5 separate regions of the Homo sapiens genome follow, and regions 1, 3, 4 and 5 are each linked to region 2. The links are contacts of gene promoters, found by promoter capture Hi-C in blood cells and fetal thymus (Javierre and others, 2016). All regions are on one chromosome and are shown on one strand. Each heading gives the region's core, a stretch centred on a gene start or on the middle of the fragment in contact. The rest is flanking DNA. Distances are from core to core; before and after follow the strand shown.

Region 1 (2,700 bases), core at 41-2,540, 380 kb before region 2:
GTCTTAAAAAATATGACTGATCTTTATGTTTGAGGCATTATTCTAGGTCTTTGGGGATAGAGTTGAGAACAAAAAAGCCCTGCCCACATGGAACTTAAAAACATTTTAATTGAGAGAGAAAGACATTAAACAAATTAAGATGAGTTCAGTGGCAATAAATGCTTTGGAGAGAAATAAGCAGAGTAAGGGGGATAATGAGGGTTTAGAGGTAGGGGAATGCCCAAGGCTTTGTTATTTTGCGTAAATATTCAGGGAAGTTTATCTAATATGGTGACACTTTAGCAAATAGCTATGGGAAGGAAGCGAAGGGAGCAAGCAGCATAGGTATCTAGCAGAAGAGAATTCTAGGCAGGAGGAACAACAGTACCAAACACCTGAGATAAGAGTGCTTGGCATATGGGAGGCATTGCAAAGAAGATGGCAGTGATGCAGTGGGGGGAAGAACAGATCACAAAGGGAATATAGTATGGATATATGTACATATACATACACATATGTTTTATAACATACATAGTACAGTATATATATATACACACACACCATGCACCATGCACTATATAGTATTAAATTGTGTGTGTGTTTGTGTGTATAAAGTACTGTCGTTGAAACTGAAGTCTAGTGTAATATGTTCAGTGCCATAGGCCAGTTATAAAGTGCTATGAAGATCTAGAGAAGGCAGAGATTAAATTCCATTTTTTACTCTCAGAAGTTGAAGCATGCATATCCAAGTTGGATTTACTGTTTCATTTTTGTTGCAAATAGTCTGAATTGTGAAAGCTTTGTGTCATTCTGTTGTTCCATGGGCACTCTGTTTTGTTCTTTGTTCTTTAAGCAGTATTGGCCACCGTAGCTGCTTATCTAAAATGCATGTGTTTATCAGATATTAACTTATATAATAATTGGACCTATTAAAGGAAAAATTTTAAGTAAATGTTGGTAGTTACATTGTCATTTCTTGCTAGCAATCAAGGCCAAGTTAGATCATTTGAATTCATATTTAATCATTACACACTGAAGATTAAAAGTGAACAAATTAATGTCATGAATAACTTTTTTCCCTTTATTGTAGTATAGCTGAGACATTTATACATTACATTTTATATATATTTTAAAAGTAACTCATTTCTTGGTTTTCTCCTCTGTTATATCTCTAAATTGGATTATATTATATTACATTTTTTATTGAGGCAGAGTCTCACTCTGTTGCCCAGGCTGGAGTGCAGTGGTACTATCTCCGCTCACTGCAACCTCCGCCTCCCAGGTTCAAGCAATTGTCCTGCCTCAGCCTCCTGAGTAGCTGGGATTACCCATGCCCGCCACCAAGCCCAGCTAATGTTTTTGGTATTATTAGTAAAGATGGGGTTTCAGCATATTGGCCAGGCTGGTCTCGAACTCCTGATCTTGGGTGATCCACCCCACCTCAGGTTTCCAAAGTACTGGGATTACAGGGGTGAGCCACCGCACCCAACCTATTTTACATTTTCTTCATTGAGTTTACGAATAATATCTCTTAAACAGATTGTAGGTTACTCTTCTTAAGTTTTATTGAGAATCTTTTTTTCCAGTTTTGTTCTCAGTATTACCTAGTTATCAACTGATCTGAGCTAATTCAGTAGAACAGAGGGGAGAGAAGGAGTATAAATCTTTTGTATGAACAAACAGATCCAACTCAATTACAGACCAGATCTCTGCCCTGTTATCTTCCTGTTGCAAAGACAGCATTCTAGGGTGGATGTTCATAAAGATAGTTTGATCTTCATTTTGTTCATTCTTCTGTATGGATGATTTCTTTAAATAAGCTTTATTTAAAGAAAAATGTTAAAGTTAATTTTAAAGAGATGAATAATACCAGTATTTTAATGGAAGGTTTTTAAGTAGTAAGGAAATAGAAGGTTCCTCAAAACCTTGAAACAATTCATTTTGAGATGACCAAAGTACTTGAGAGAGAATTATACCCTGAGGGAGTTTGATTTATTTTTTGGTATTGTTGATCATTTATGTGATTCTAATTGGTACCCTGCTTCTTAGGTAGATTATGGTAGTCTCAATTGCTCTAATTGAGAGATTTTTAACAACATCTCCAAACTATTACTGCTCCACTTTGTGTTAAATCTTTTGCCTGTTTGTATGCAGATCTGGTATTAACAATAAATTAAAACCACAGAGGAAATTAATCATTTAAAAATTTTTTATTGCAGACTTAATTCAGTGCACAAATGAGATGAATGTGAACATCCCACAGTTGGCAGACAGTTTATTTGAAAGAACTACTAATAGTAGTTGGGTGGTGGTCTTCAAATCTCTCATTACAACTCATCATTTGATGGTGTATGGAAATGAGGTAAGCAGAATTTTTATTGAACAAGTATACTGATGTGTTGACTTATTGTTAGCTAGCTTCTCTCACTGAAACTTCAGAAACAGCTCCCAGGTACAAAGGTCAAGGTGCCTAGCCAGAAATATAATTATAGACCCTGTAATTTGAGGAAAGATAGCTTGTAAGCCAGAAAGCAAAAAGTGGGTTAGAGCACAGAGGACATCAATAATGGATCAAGAAGCAAAGATTAATGCCTAGAAATGGGTTCCATAAGCATCCCTGGTTTTTGCTGGTCCTGTTTATAGACTATATATTTTGTCTATATCCATTTGTTCTTTTATTATAGTCCAGTTAGATTTTTTGTTTGTTTGTTTTGAGACAGG
Region 2 (2,700 bases), core at 136-2,635:
ATGGCCTACATGCCAGTAGTTTGTTGATGTCTGCACTAGTTAGGGTGAAAATGTGAAGGGAATGGTGAATGATGAAGATTTGGCTCAGGTTTCAGGGTAACAGTTAAGAAAAACAAAGGCTGGATGCAGTGGCTCACGCCTGTAATCCCAGCACCTTGGGAGGCCAAGGCAGACGGATCACCTGAGGTCAGGAGTTCGAGACCAGCCTGGCCAACATGGTGAAACTCCCTGTCTTTTAAAAATACAAAAATTAGCCAGGCACGGCGGCAGCTGCCTGTAATCCCAGCTACTCGGGAGGCTGAGGCAGGAGAATCGCTTGAACCTGGGAGGTGGAGGTTGCAGTGTGCCGAGATCTCGCCACTGCACTCCAGCCTGGGTGAGAGCGAGACTCGGTCTACAAAAAAAAAAAAAAAAACAGTTCAGGGATAACAACAAAGGAAAACATGCTTTTATGAAACCAGATTTTCTCATTTCCTACAACATTACAGGCACTCGTTTAAATATTTATTGCTACCTGTTTTATATCGATAAGAGGTCATTTGGAAATGTTGATTACCTTGACATTCCATATCTCTAGACTTAAAGCTAACCTAATAAGTACAAAGCAGCCTTAGAAATTTATGTCTAGGTTTCTGGTAGTCAAATTTTTGAGGGCCTTGGCTACGATAAGATGATAAGACACAATCTCTGCTGTACAGGAGCTCTGAATGATTTTGTGTATGGGGTGGTGAAATATATAATCAAATTTAGTATGTATATATTGTACTGAGGGCAATTAAGTCACTCAATTCAGTATAAGTGCTGACTGGGCAGCCCCTGTGGGCATTTTGTCTCCGATATTAATAACAAATATCTATCAAAGACAACGCCGCCTGTAAAAACTACAAATATTTCGAAAGATTTTTGTGTTACCTATCTCATGTCATTCTTGGAAGAGCTCTGAGAGATAGGCAGTGTGGGGCCTATCTGAAAGAGAAGTAAAGTGGGACCTCTGAAAATCAAATTTGGCCGTGGTCACCTTGTAAATTGACAGTAAACCTGGGATTAAATTCAATCTCAGGCATTTCTCCTTTCTACTGAGTTAATTTAAATATAAGGTCTTTCCTTCTAGAGTGCAAAGTGAAAAGACAGCAGGAAGAGCTAACTACACTTCTACTTGCTCTCATTTACGCGCAGCGCTGCTGGTAGCTAGCGTGTCACCGCGTCGTGCTTCTCCTGACACCGGGACATTTACTTCACCCCCTCCCCCGGAATACCAGTACCTTATGCTCTCCTCCCAGCAGCCTGTGGGTGCCTCCTCCTTCCTCAGCCACGCCGGAGTTCACTGTGGCCTTTGCTCAAATTACCTGGGCGCAGCCATCTTTGGCTGACTCGTGACGCGGCGTGGGCGGGCGCCGGGTCGCGGCTGCTAATTGGACTGCGGGACGGAGGTTGCAGCCAGCAGCGGCTTTGGGCTGAGAAGCTTCCGGCCCTAGGAGGTGCCGGGAGGCTAAGCGTTGAGGTTTGTTTGCCTGGCGTAGAGTGTGCTCGTTTCACCTACTCTTGCCTCCCAGGACAGAACTTGTAGAAATTGTGAAATTTCGAGATATAAGTTGGGTGACCCTCAGTCAGCCTCTTCCATTGAAAACGTACCTCGGGCATATTACTTAACTTCCTGGTCAGTAGAGCCTACTTACGTTCTTGGCATGGGGTAAATGAAAACTGCACAGCTCTTGGCATATGATAGCTACTCAGGTTAAAAATAAGTCAAAGGTGAGCTATTTCTTGGCTCTATCGATTTTCTACTCTCCCTAGGAACTTAAGCTCCCTGTGCCATGTTTTGATCTGTATTGATTGCCCTACCATAATCAGCACCTCAGAGCTGCAGCTTATTTTTCTGAGGATTTCTCGTGTTCTCCAGAGTACTGCTTATTTGGAAGCAGTGTTGGGTGAAAGTCATCTTATTTCTTCTTGCTTTTTAAGTATAAATACTAGAAAATTTAGAATTATATATGTGGCTTGCATTATATTTCTATTGGACAGTGCTGTTCAGAAGGTACCTCTAATGCTCTCCTCCCAGCAGCCAGTGGATGCCTCACCAGGTCTTCCTCAGCCATGCTGGGGCTCCCTGCAACCTTTGCTCAGTTCGCTTGGACTAATTAACCCAATAGAAGGGAAAAATGCCTACAATTGAATTTTATCTTAACTCCATTAAGATTAGCAGGTAAACATTGTGCCAAAAAATATATAACTAACTGTAGCAATAAATACATGATCATAACACATTATCAGAAATCTTAATTATTCTCATCCTCTCAAATTTCTGAACAAGTGATAAAGTGTTGCATTGTCCAGATAATTTTTATACTGTCTCTCCATTGCAGGGTTGCTTGACCATTAGGCTCCATAGTGCCAAGAAGTCTGTAATTGCAGTTTCTAAACTTGCACAAATAGAAAGACTTATTTTCACGAAGGTGTACAAGAAGGAAAATTCCTAGTCTTTTTTTTATTTTTATTTTTTATTTTTTAGACAGAGTTTTGCTCTCGTCGGCCAGGCTGGAGTGCAATGGCCTGATCTCAGCTCATTGCAACTTCTGCCTTCCAGGTTCAAGCGATTCTCCTGCTTCAGCCTCCAGAGTAGCTGGGATTACAGGCGTGTGCCACCACGCCCAGCTGATCAGCTGATTTTTTTTTTTGTTTTTGAGACTGAGTCTCGTTCTG
Region 3 (2,700 bases), core at 37-2,536, 360 kb before region 2:
TTCTTCAGGGCAGGAACTAGGTCACTTTTGTTCTCTGTTGTACCCCCATTGCCTATTAATGTGGCACATAGTAAGTGTTCAGTAAACATTCAATAAATCTTACAGGTATTTCATAGACTAAAACAGAGATTATCCAACTACAGCTTACTGCCTGTTTTTGTATGTTTTTTAAGTGGTTGAAAATAATTAAATGGTATTTTGTAACAGGTGGAAGTTACATGAAATTCCAACTTCAGTGTCCTCAATAGTATTATTGGAACACAGCCAAGCTCACTGATACATATTATCTATGGCTGTTTTATGTTACAACAGCAGAGTTCAAAAGTTATGACAGAGACTGTGTGGCCCACAGTCTAAAATATTTACCATCTGACCCTTTACAAAAAAAAGTTTGCTGACCCCTGCTCTAGAAGGCATGGGGTACTGATGCAGTTATTCAACATTATTTTGGTTTGTATAGAATCTCAGGGTCCAACCATGCATATTTTTCTTAATATATTGTATTTGTTTAAAATTTCTTATTCTTTTCAATGTCTGTATTGTACTTTGTTATATAATAACAATTTATCTAATCCTCCTGTTGATAGATGTTTATTCTGTTTTTTTATCCTAAACAGTGCTACACTCAATTCTCTCTCCTCTCTCTGTCTCTTGTCTGTCTCTCCCTCTGTGTGTGTGTGTGTTTCTATTTGTAAACCTATTTCAATAGGTTTAACACCCAGAAAAAGAATGTGGTGGTTCAAATAATATAAACATTTAAATTTTTAATAAATATTGCTTATATTCCAAAAGGGTGAGCCACTAACTTCTCAACAGGTGTCTGTTTTTGCTTTTTCATCTTTTTTTTGTTTTTTTGAGACAGCATTTTTCTCTGTCACCCTGGCTGGAGTTCTGTGGCATGATCATAGCTCATTGCAGCCTCCAACTCCTGGGCTCAAGCAATCCTCCCACCTCAGCCTCCTGAGTAGCTGGGACTACAGGGGTACACCACCATGCTCAGCTGCCTTTTCTTGGTTTTAGTTTTTTGTAGAGACAAGGTCTTGCTGTGTTGCCCAGGCTGGTCTCATTTGAAACTGCCAGGCTCAAGCAATCCTCCTGCCTCGGCCTCACAAAGTGCTGGGACCACAGGCATGAGCTACCGTGTTCTTTTCTTTTTTCATTCTTATGGGCACTGAGTAATATAGTCTGATGTTCAGGAAAGGATATTTTAGTAATTTGATTTGATTATTGTATTTTAATTTACCTGATAAGTGAAGTTGTATTTCTTTTCACGTTATTATCCATATGTATTTTTTATTTTGTAAATTGTTTTCATTTACTTTATTTATTATTAGGATTCTCCCTATATAATGGACATCAGCTCTACTAGATAGTCTGCAAATAACTTTTTTACCAGTTTTTTGTTTGCCATTCAATTTTGTGCTTAGTTTTTCTATATATAACGAGTTAATTTTCATGTGCTAAAAAAGAACTTAGAATTAATTTGGTTTATCTTTTTGATTTATTCCTTGAGATAAAACTAAAAATATTTCCAGTATTCTTTTAGTCAAATAAATACAATTATCTGGTTACAGCAAATTTAATAATAATAAATAATGTTCATTTATATGGTAGCTACTGCACCGTGATCTTTATGTATGTATTAGAGAAAATAAATGTATTTTTCACTAACATGCCTAATGCATGAATTTACTGTATCTTAATTTGAAGGAAATCTTTTTGTCAATGTCATTTAAAACCTAAGATTAGCTAATTTTATTTTCCAATTTTTCCCTAGGTTAATAGCAATGAACTTACAAATGGGGTAATAAATGCTGCCTTCATGCTCCTGTTCAAAGATGCCATTAGACTGTTTGCAGCATACAATGAAGGAATTATTAATTTGTTGGGTAAATACTGCTGTAGCCTAATAACATTTCTTATCTTGTGTCATATGGATAAACAATATTGACTGAGTTGTTACTTAAAGCTGGCTAAAAATTTATTATGATATATTCATTCATTGTAACAGTTAATTTGGAGAAAAGAGTTTTATACCTAATTACTTCTGCAAGTGATTACATATTTTTATACCCAGGATGTTCAGCAAGATGAACTTTATTTTTTAGATGTATCTATGTTTTTTCCACCCATTTTATTAATTTTTAGAAATATAAAAGTGCCTTTAAAATTTAGCTGGGTTAAGATAGTAAGTTTTAGGCTGAGGCAGGAGAATTGCTTGAACCCAGGAGGCGGAGGTTGCAGTGAGCCTAGATCGTGCCATTGTACTCCAGCCTGGGCAACAAGAGCGAAACTCAGTTTCAAAAAAAAAAAAAAAACAAAAAGGATAGTAAGTTTTATGTTACAGGTATTTTACCACAATAAAAAAAGATGGGAAAAAAACAAATATTTTGTCCCAGAAGAATATTGTTTTCTCATAATCAACTCCATAATGAACTTTTAAAAAATTTAAATCTGTTTTTTATAGTCTGAAGTAACGTGGACTTACTCAGGGATGCTTTAATCTATAGGGATAGGGAAATTTGGCTTATTTTTTCACAAGTGAAAAATAAAGGTTTTTCTATAAAGCTTTGGAAGGCATAGTCTTCAATACTATAATTAGTATAAATTAACCTTTTCTATGTATACATTAAACTTAAATGAACTTTCTGAGTGACATTTGGGCATGGTAAAGTTGTTATCTTAGATAATATACTATTA
Region 4 (2,700 bases), core at 127-2,626, 340 kb before region 2:
AACAAATCATGTGACCACATTCTAAATATTCTCTTAGATATATATAAGTGAGAGGAAGGAAGAGAAGGAAGAATTAACTAGAAAGCAAGTTAGTAGATCAGACAAAGTTCCAAGTCAGGTGTTGTAAAAATATGACTAGTCTAATAGCTTAAAACACATATATATCCAAAGTGTGATAATTCATTGCAGTAATTCCTTCATGTCATTTTGATACAAGTTGCCAGCCCTTACTCTATAGGATTAAGAACAATCCAGAAAAATCAGAAGAGCTATGTATCTAGATAGCCTCTGACCTTGACAGAGGGAAGACATTTATCTGATACAATGATCAGTGTAATAGGTAGCTTGTCCTCATTGAAGCTTTAAGAACACTGAATTGTACATAAAGGAGAGTCGTGGTCTTAACTATGCTGCATATGTGAGTGTCTGTGAAAGTGTGTAGGCTTGCTTTCTTAGCTGTAAAACCACACATTAGAGGACACGATAGTGTTGGCTAAAAAGCCAACTGCCTAATATTTCTTTTCTAATGAGATACAGTGTTGGGTTTTTCTTTCTAATTTATGCAAACGGAATATGTTTTTTTAATACTTCATGGAGCCTTAAGTTCTTTTTTTAGCAAGTTGTAATTTGAAGAATGCCAAGTGCTTGGGCTCCCCCCATTTTTTGTTTTTCTTGATTACCCATCCCACTCATAACTGTTCCTCCTCTTCTCTTTCTTTTTTTTCTCTTCTTCCTCTTCTTCCTCACGTGCCTCCCTAGCTGCTTCCCTGATTCTTTCCTTCCCCTTCCCCTCTTTTTCTCCCTTTCCTTACTCCTTTCCTGCCTTCCTGCCTTGTATGCCTTGTCAGAATTTTTTGTGTCACTTAAGTTTGTCCTAATACTTCCTTTATGTGCCTTGTTTCTTCTACTGTAGCCAGCTCATTTGGAGCTAGATAACAGTATCTTTACAACTTATTTATGCAGGAAGGATTTTTTTTTTCTTAAAATGAGTTTTTATAAACTTGGTAAGAAAAAATATACTTATTTGCTTTCAGAGAACACACTAGTTTTTGCCTAACTTCATTTGCCTTAATTAAACACTTGGTGGTTTTATGAATAGTTGCTTATCATCTTCTTACTTTACTCCATTCTCAAAACCTTAAATTTTCAGAAGCATGAAAACGTTTTAATATTACAAGGTTATGGAATCTGAAGTTTTGTATTATCTATGTCTTTCCACATATGTTCAAGGCCAGTGTGGTAGCAATAAAACCTCAAAAGTCCAGCTGATATTTTCTGTGTGCATAGTAGTTATTACTGTAGTTAAGTTGGCATTAAAAAGAATGTTTGACACAACTAAAGAATTGAGGCTCTTGATTACAAGAATTGGACAGGACTAAATGTATTTTAAAATGGAATTTATTAGGGCATTTGATGGTATATGCTTGGAGCCTAGTGAACTTAGGTTTGAATTTTAGTTCTGCTTCATGAACTTGACTTTAAGCAAGTATTTAACCTTTTTAAGGCTATGCAAGTTGGGATAATAGTGTCTTGCAGGATTGTCCTGAAGTTTACATACATGACTATGTAACATCTAGCACTTTGCTAGGTATATAAAAGTATCAAAATGACTACTACTAAAAACCATCTCGGGAGCTGGGTACAGTAGCTGGTACCCATAATTCCAGCTAATTAGGAAGCTGAGGCAGGAGGATAGCTTGAGGCCAGGAGTTTGAGGCCAGCCTCGGCAACATGCAAGACCCTATCTCTCAGAAAATTTAAAGAATTTAAAATTCTTGTATATGTGGACCACATCATAATTAGAATGTACTTCTCACCTAAATTATTATGTAGTCATCAACTAAAATCCTAAACATTGATTTTTTCTTTATTGCTTTTAGATTTTAAAATTGCCAAAGATTATTCACTTTTTTTGGTCTAATATTAGCAATGAAAAGCTCAAGAAGTTCATAAAATTTGGGTTGTTTTTAATAATAGTTATAGCAATAGTAAAAAATTTCTTTTTCTACTTACTATATTATGTAAGGTGAAATACTTGGGATTAAACTGAAAACCCTAATAGATTCTAGAATCAAACAAATGGGGGTTCAAGTCTTGGTTCTGATGCTTACTAAATCTTTGACCTTGGGTACATTATGTAATCTCTCTTTGTTTCCTCATCTGTAAAACAGGGATAATAATAACTATGTCATAGGGTTTATGTGAGGTTTAAATAATACCCTGTTTATAAAGCCCTTGCTTAGTGCTTAGTAGTGTTTAATAAATGGTAGTAGTTACTTTGACAAAAAAGTATGAGTCCTAATTTATTGTGAAACTACCACCAAAATCAATTAACAATCCACCCAAATTTTGTAAAAGGTGTTTGGAATGTCTTTCTGTCCCCAAAGCTTGTTGATCTTGTACTTTTCAATTAATTTATTATTGTCCTCTTGAGATTTAACCTGCAGGCCAGTGGTTTCTAAATGATAAACTGTGGATTGGTGCTGGTTAGTGAGAAAGTTTTCACTGGGCCTTGGTGAAATGGAAGAGTAAGCAGGACAATGTAATGATATCATAAAGTTAACCTTAACTCAGAGCTCAGCGCCTGCTCTTTTTAGCATGTGCGCACGCGTGTATGTGTGTGTGTGTATTTCTGTAAACTTTCTCTTTTAGAATAGTGATACTAGCTGGGTCTTTTTGTTTTAAATAACTTTTAAAAAT
Region 5 (2,700 bases), core at 133-2,632, 320 kb before region 2:
AGGTGAGTAGATCACCTGAGGTCGGGAGTTCAAGACCAGCCTGGCCAACATGGTGAAACCCTGTCTCTACTAAAAATACAAAAAATTGCTGGGCTTGGTGGTGCATGTCTGGAATCCCAGCTACTTGGGAGGCTGAGGTGGGGGAATTGCTTGAACCAGGGAGGCAGAGGTTGCAGTGAGCCTGGATTGGGCCATTGCACTCCAGGCTGGGCGACAAGAGCTAAACTCCATCTCAAAACAAACAAAAAATTGCTTGTCATCCAGCATCTGCTCTGTTTTTGTTTTGTTTTTTTTTTTTGAGACAGGGTCTTGCTCTGTCACCCAGACTCGAGTACAGTGGTGCGATCTCGGCTCACTGCAACCTCCATCTCCCATGTTCAAGCCATCCTCCCGCCTTGGCCTCCTGAGTAGCTGAGATTACTGGTGTATGCCACCATGCCTGGCTAATTTTTGTATTTTTTTTAGAGATGGAGTTTTGCCATGTTGCCCAGGCTGTTCTTGAACTCCTGAGCTCTAGCAGTTCATCTGCCTCGGCCTCCCAAAGTGCTGGGATTACAGGTATGAGCCACCGTACCCACCCAGCATCTGCTCTTAACCCAGGTTTTACGTCCTGTTGCCTTCTAAAACCCACATAACCGTTTCACAGAAACACCAGAAAAGTGCCAGAATTTCCTTGTGCATGAAAAAAAACAGGGACAGAAATACCTTTTCTTAATTACTTTATATCAGAAGAGAAGTGAATGAGAACATTAGGGTAATAAGTTTCTAGTTGAAAGATAAAATTTGAAATGAGTACTTAAGTATTACTGAAAAAGCAAATGAAGGAAGCAAATTGATAACTAGGAAAATAAAATCAGGCAGCAATGAAATGGCTTGAAGAAGCTTTGGTCTCTCTACATAGTCATTTGAATCATTTGAAAGTCAGAATCTTAAATTTGTTAATGTTACTTTTAATTATTTTGTAATTCCTTTGTTCTGCATGTATCTAATCACAAAGTCTCACTAATTATTCCTCTGCTATAATTAGACCCACCCTTCTCCTTGCATTCTACAGCTTTCACCCAGTCTTGGAACCTCTTTATTCACACTTGTTTTGCAATAGTCACTCATGTTCTCTGCCTCCCCGATTTAATCCGTTTTGTAAATATTGGAACAATCTTTTGTAGGCAGTATTTGTAATACCCATCTCCATACTCAAACATTTAGGGAGGTGAATCTTTTTTGTGTGTGGGTAATGGAGTCTCACTCTGTCCCCCAGGCTGGAGGGCAGTGGTACGATTTCAGCTCACTGCAGCCTCTGCCTCCTGTGTTAAACCTCCTGCCTCAGCCTCCCCGGCAGCTGGGATTACAGGCACACGCCACCACACCCAACTAATTTTTAGTAGAGACAGGGTTTCACCATGTTGGCCAGGCTGGTCTCAAACTCCTGGCCTCAAGTGATCCTCCCTCCTGGGCCTCCCAAAGTGTTGGGATTACAGGTGTGAGCCACTGTGTCCAGCCTAAGGAGGTGAATCTAAATATAACTGAACATTTAAAGCCTTTTCTCAGCTTTCCTTCCATCTTAAAACAACCTCATGAAGCCTCCCTATTTATAAGAGTAATAATGAGTTAACGGAATATTCAAGTTCTTCGATTCCATGCTTTTACAATTCTCAATAAGTATCCAGTGTTCTGCTGTTATTTGTCTTTTCCATAAGTCCTTCACCTGCCATAAAGTGGGTTTATTCTTTGTCCAGTCTTCAGTCATCTGGTGTCCCTTTCACATCCTTATGAGATCTGGAATTCTTTTCCTTATTCTGCATTATTTTTTCTTACAGACCTTGTGACTACCTGGCATCCATCCAGTCTAGCAAGGGCTTTCTTTACTAGATTATAAGCTTCATGAAGGCAAGCTTCTCTGGCATGTTTACTTCTCTGTCCCTAGTTCCTAGAACAGTGCCTGACATGTAATAGTTTTTGGACATTATTTGTTAAGTAAATGAATCACCTTGTAAACTTACCTTTTTCATCATATAACTTACTCTGCCCCTCCTTAATCTCTCATTTCACTTACTTGTAACCATTATAATAACTTGCAGTGGTGTTCAAAATTGGTTTGATTTGTTGGCTAATAGTTATGGTGAGCTAAAACATTAGACGGCTCACCTGAGGAATGAAGACAGCTTTATTTTATGTTTATGATTGAACATTTTTAATAATTAAAAATTAAACTGTTGGCCGAACACAGTGGCTCATGTCTGTAATACTAGCACTTTGGGAGGCTGAGGTAGGAGGATCACTTAAGTGCAGGAGTTCCAGACCAACCTGGGCAACATAGTGAGACTGTCTGTTTTTTAAAAAGAAAAAAGTAAACTGTTTATCTTTGAACTAGATAAGGTTTTTCTCATGCTTTAAAGCATGTTTAATGATTCTCAGCCAGTCTCTTGGATTAATTTTGTCCGTAGAATGCTAGCCGAAACCAAAAGATTTTTCTTAATGAATTACCTTTTAATTGTTCTTTCATTGTTTTGTTCCCTTTTTTTCAATTGGATTAAAAAATTATTAAGGGCAGAGATCATCCATCTCTTTGTATGGGGTAAAGTAAATGGTAGTTTAAATGAAAAATGAAATTCCATCAAAATGGAATCTTTTAATCAAATCTAATTTCTACAGCTGTTCCCAAAATTCTTCCTTGCTCTTTGAAGTGTTTGTTTTGAGAGC

Evidence for each region. Contacts are between HindIII fragments. The CHiCAGO score rates a contact against its expected background, and 5 or more counts as called.
Region 1: a fragment that was not itself captured here is called in contact with the fragment with the promoter of TMEM126A in region 2 in 5 of 17 cell types (naive CD8 T cells, naive CD4 T cells, activated CD4 T cells and 2 more); the score reaches 6.6 in naive CD8 T cells.
Region 3: a fragment that was not itself captured here is called in contact with the fragment with the promoter of TMEM126A in region 2 in 4 of 17 cell types (naive CD8 T cells, total CD8 T cells, total CD4 T cells and 1 more); the score reaches 7.2 in naive CD8 T cells.
Region 4: a contact is called between a fragment that was not itself captured here and the fragment with the promoter of TMEM126A in region 2, in 1 of 17 cell types (naive CD8 T cells). The highest score is 6.4, in naive CD8 T cells.
Region 5: a contact is called between a fragment that was not itself captured here and the fragment with the promoter of TMEM126A in region 2, in 2 of 17 cell types (total CD8 T cells and activated CD4 T cells). The highest score is 6.1, in total CD8 T cells.

The regions. Positions count from the first base shown.
Region 1 is chr11:86,031,110-86,033,809 of GRCh38, reverse strand. PICALM (phosphatidylinositol binding clathrin assembly protein) reads left to right here. Exons shown (of 20, transcript NM_007166.4): 2 at 2,199-2,341. Among named protein-coding and RNA genes, the nearest start is that of PICALM, 37 kb to the left of the region's middle. The HindIII fragment of the contact is 1,022 bases long and covers 780-1,801 here.
Region 2 is chr11:85,646,652-85,649,351 of GRCh38, reverse strand. It overlaps TMEM126A (transmembrane protein 126A), which reads right to left and starts at 1,385. Exons shown (of 5, transcript NM_032273.4): 1 at 1,263-1,385. RefSeq lists enhancers at 1,135-1,404, 1,575-1,624. The HindIII fragment of the contact is 2,186 bases long and covers 1-1,464 here.
Region 3 is chr11:86,011,470-86,014,169 of GRCh38, reverse strand. It overlaps PICALM (phosphatidylinositol binding clathrin assembly protein), which reads left to right. Exons shown (of 20, transcript NM_007166.4): 6 at 1,778-1,889. Among named protein-coding and RNA genes, the nearest start is that of PICALM, 56 kb to the left of the region's middle. The HindIII fragment of the contact is 2,569 bases long and covers 2-2,570 here.
Region 4 is chr11:85,986,704-85,989,403 of GRCh38, reverse strand. The region is part of intron 13 of PICALM (phosphatidylinositol binding clathrin assembly protein); the gene reads left to right. Among named protein-coding and RNA genes, the nearest start is that of PICALM, 81 kb to the left of the region's middle. The HindIII fragment of the contact is 2,027 bases long and covers 363-2,389 here.
Region 5 is chr11:85,969,334-85,972,033 of GRCh38, reverse strand. The region is part of intron 19 of PICALM (phosphatidylinositol binding clathrin assembly protein); the gene reads left to right. Among named protein-coding and RNA genes, the nearest start is that of PICALM, 98 kb to the left of the region's middle. The HindIII fragment of the contact is 995 bases long and covers 885-1,879 here.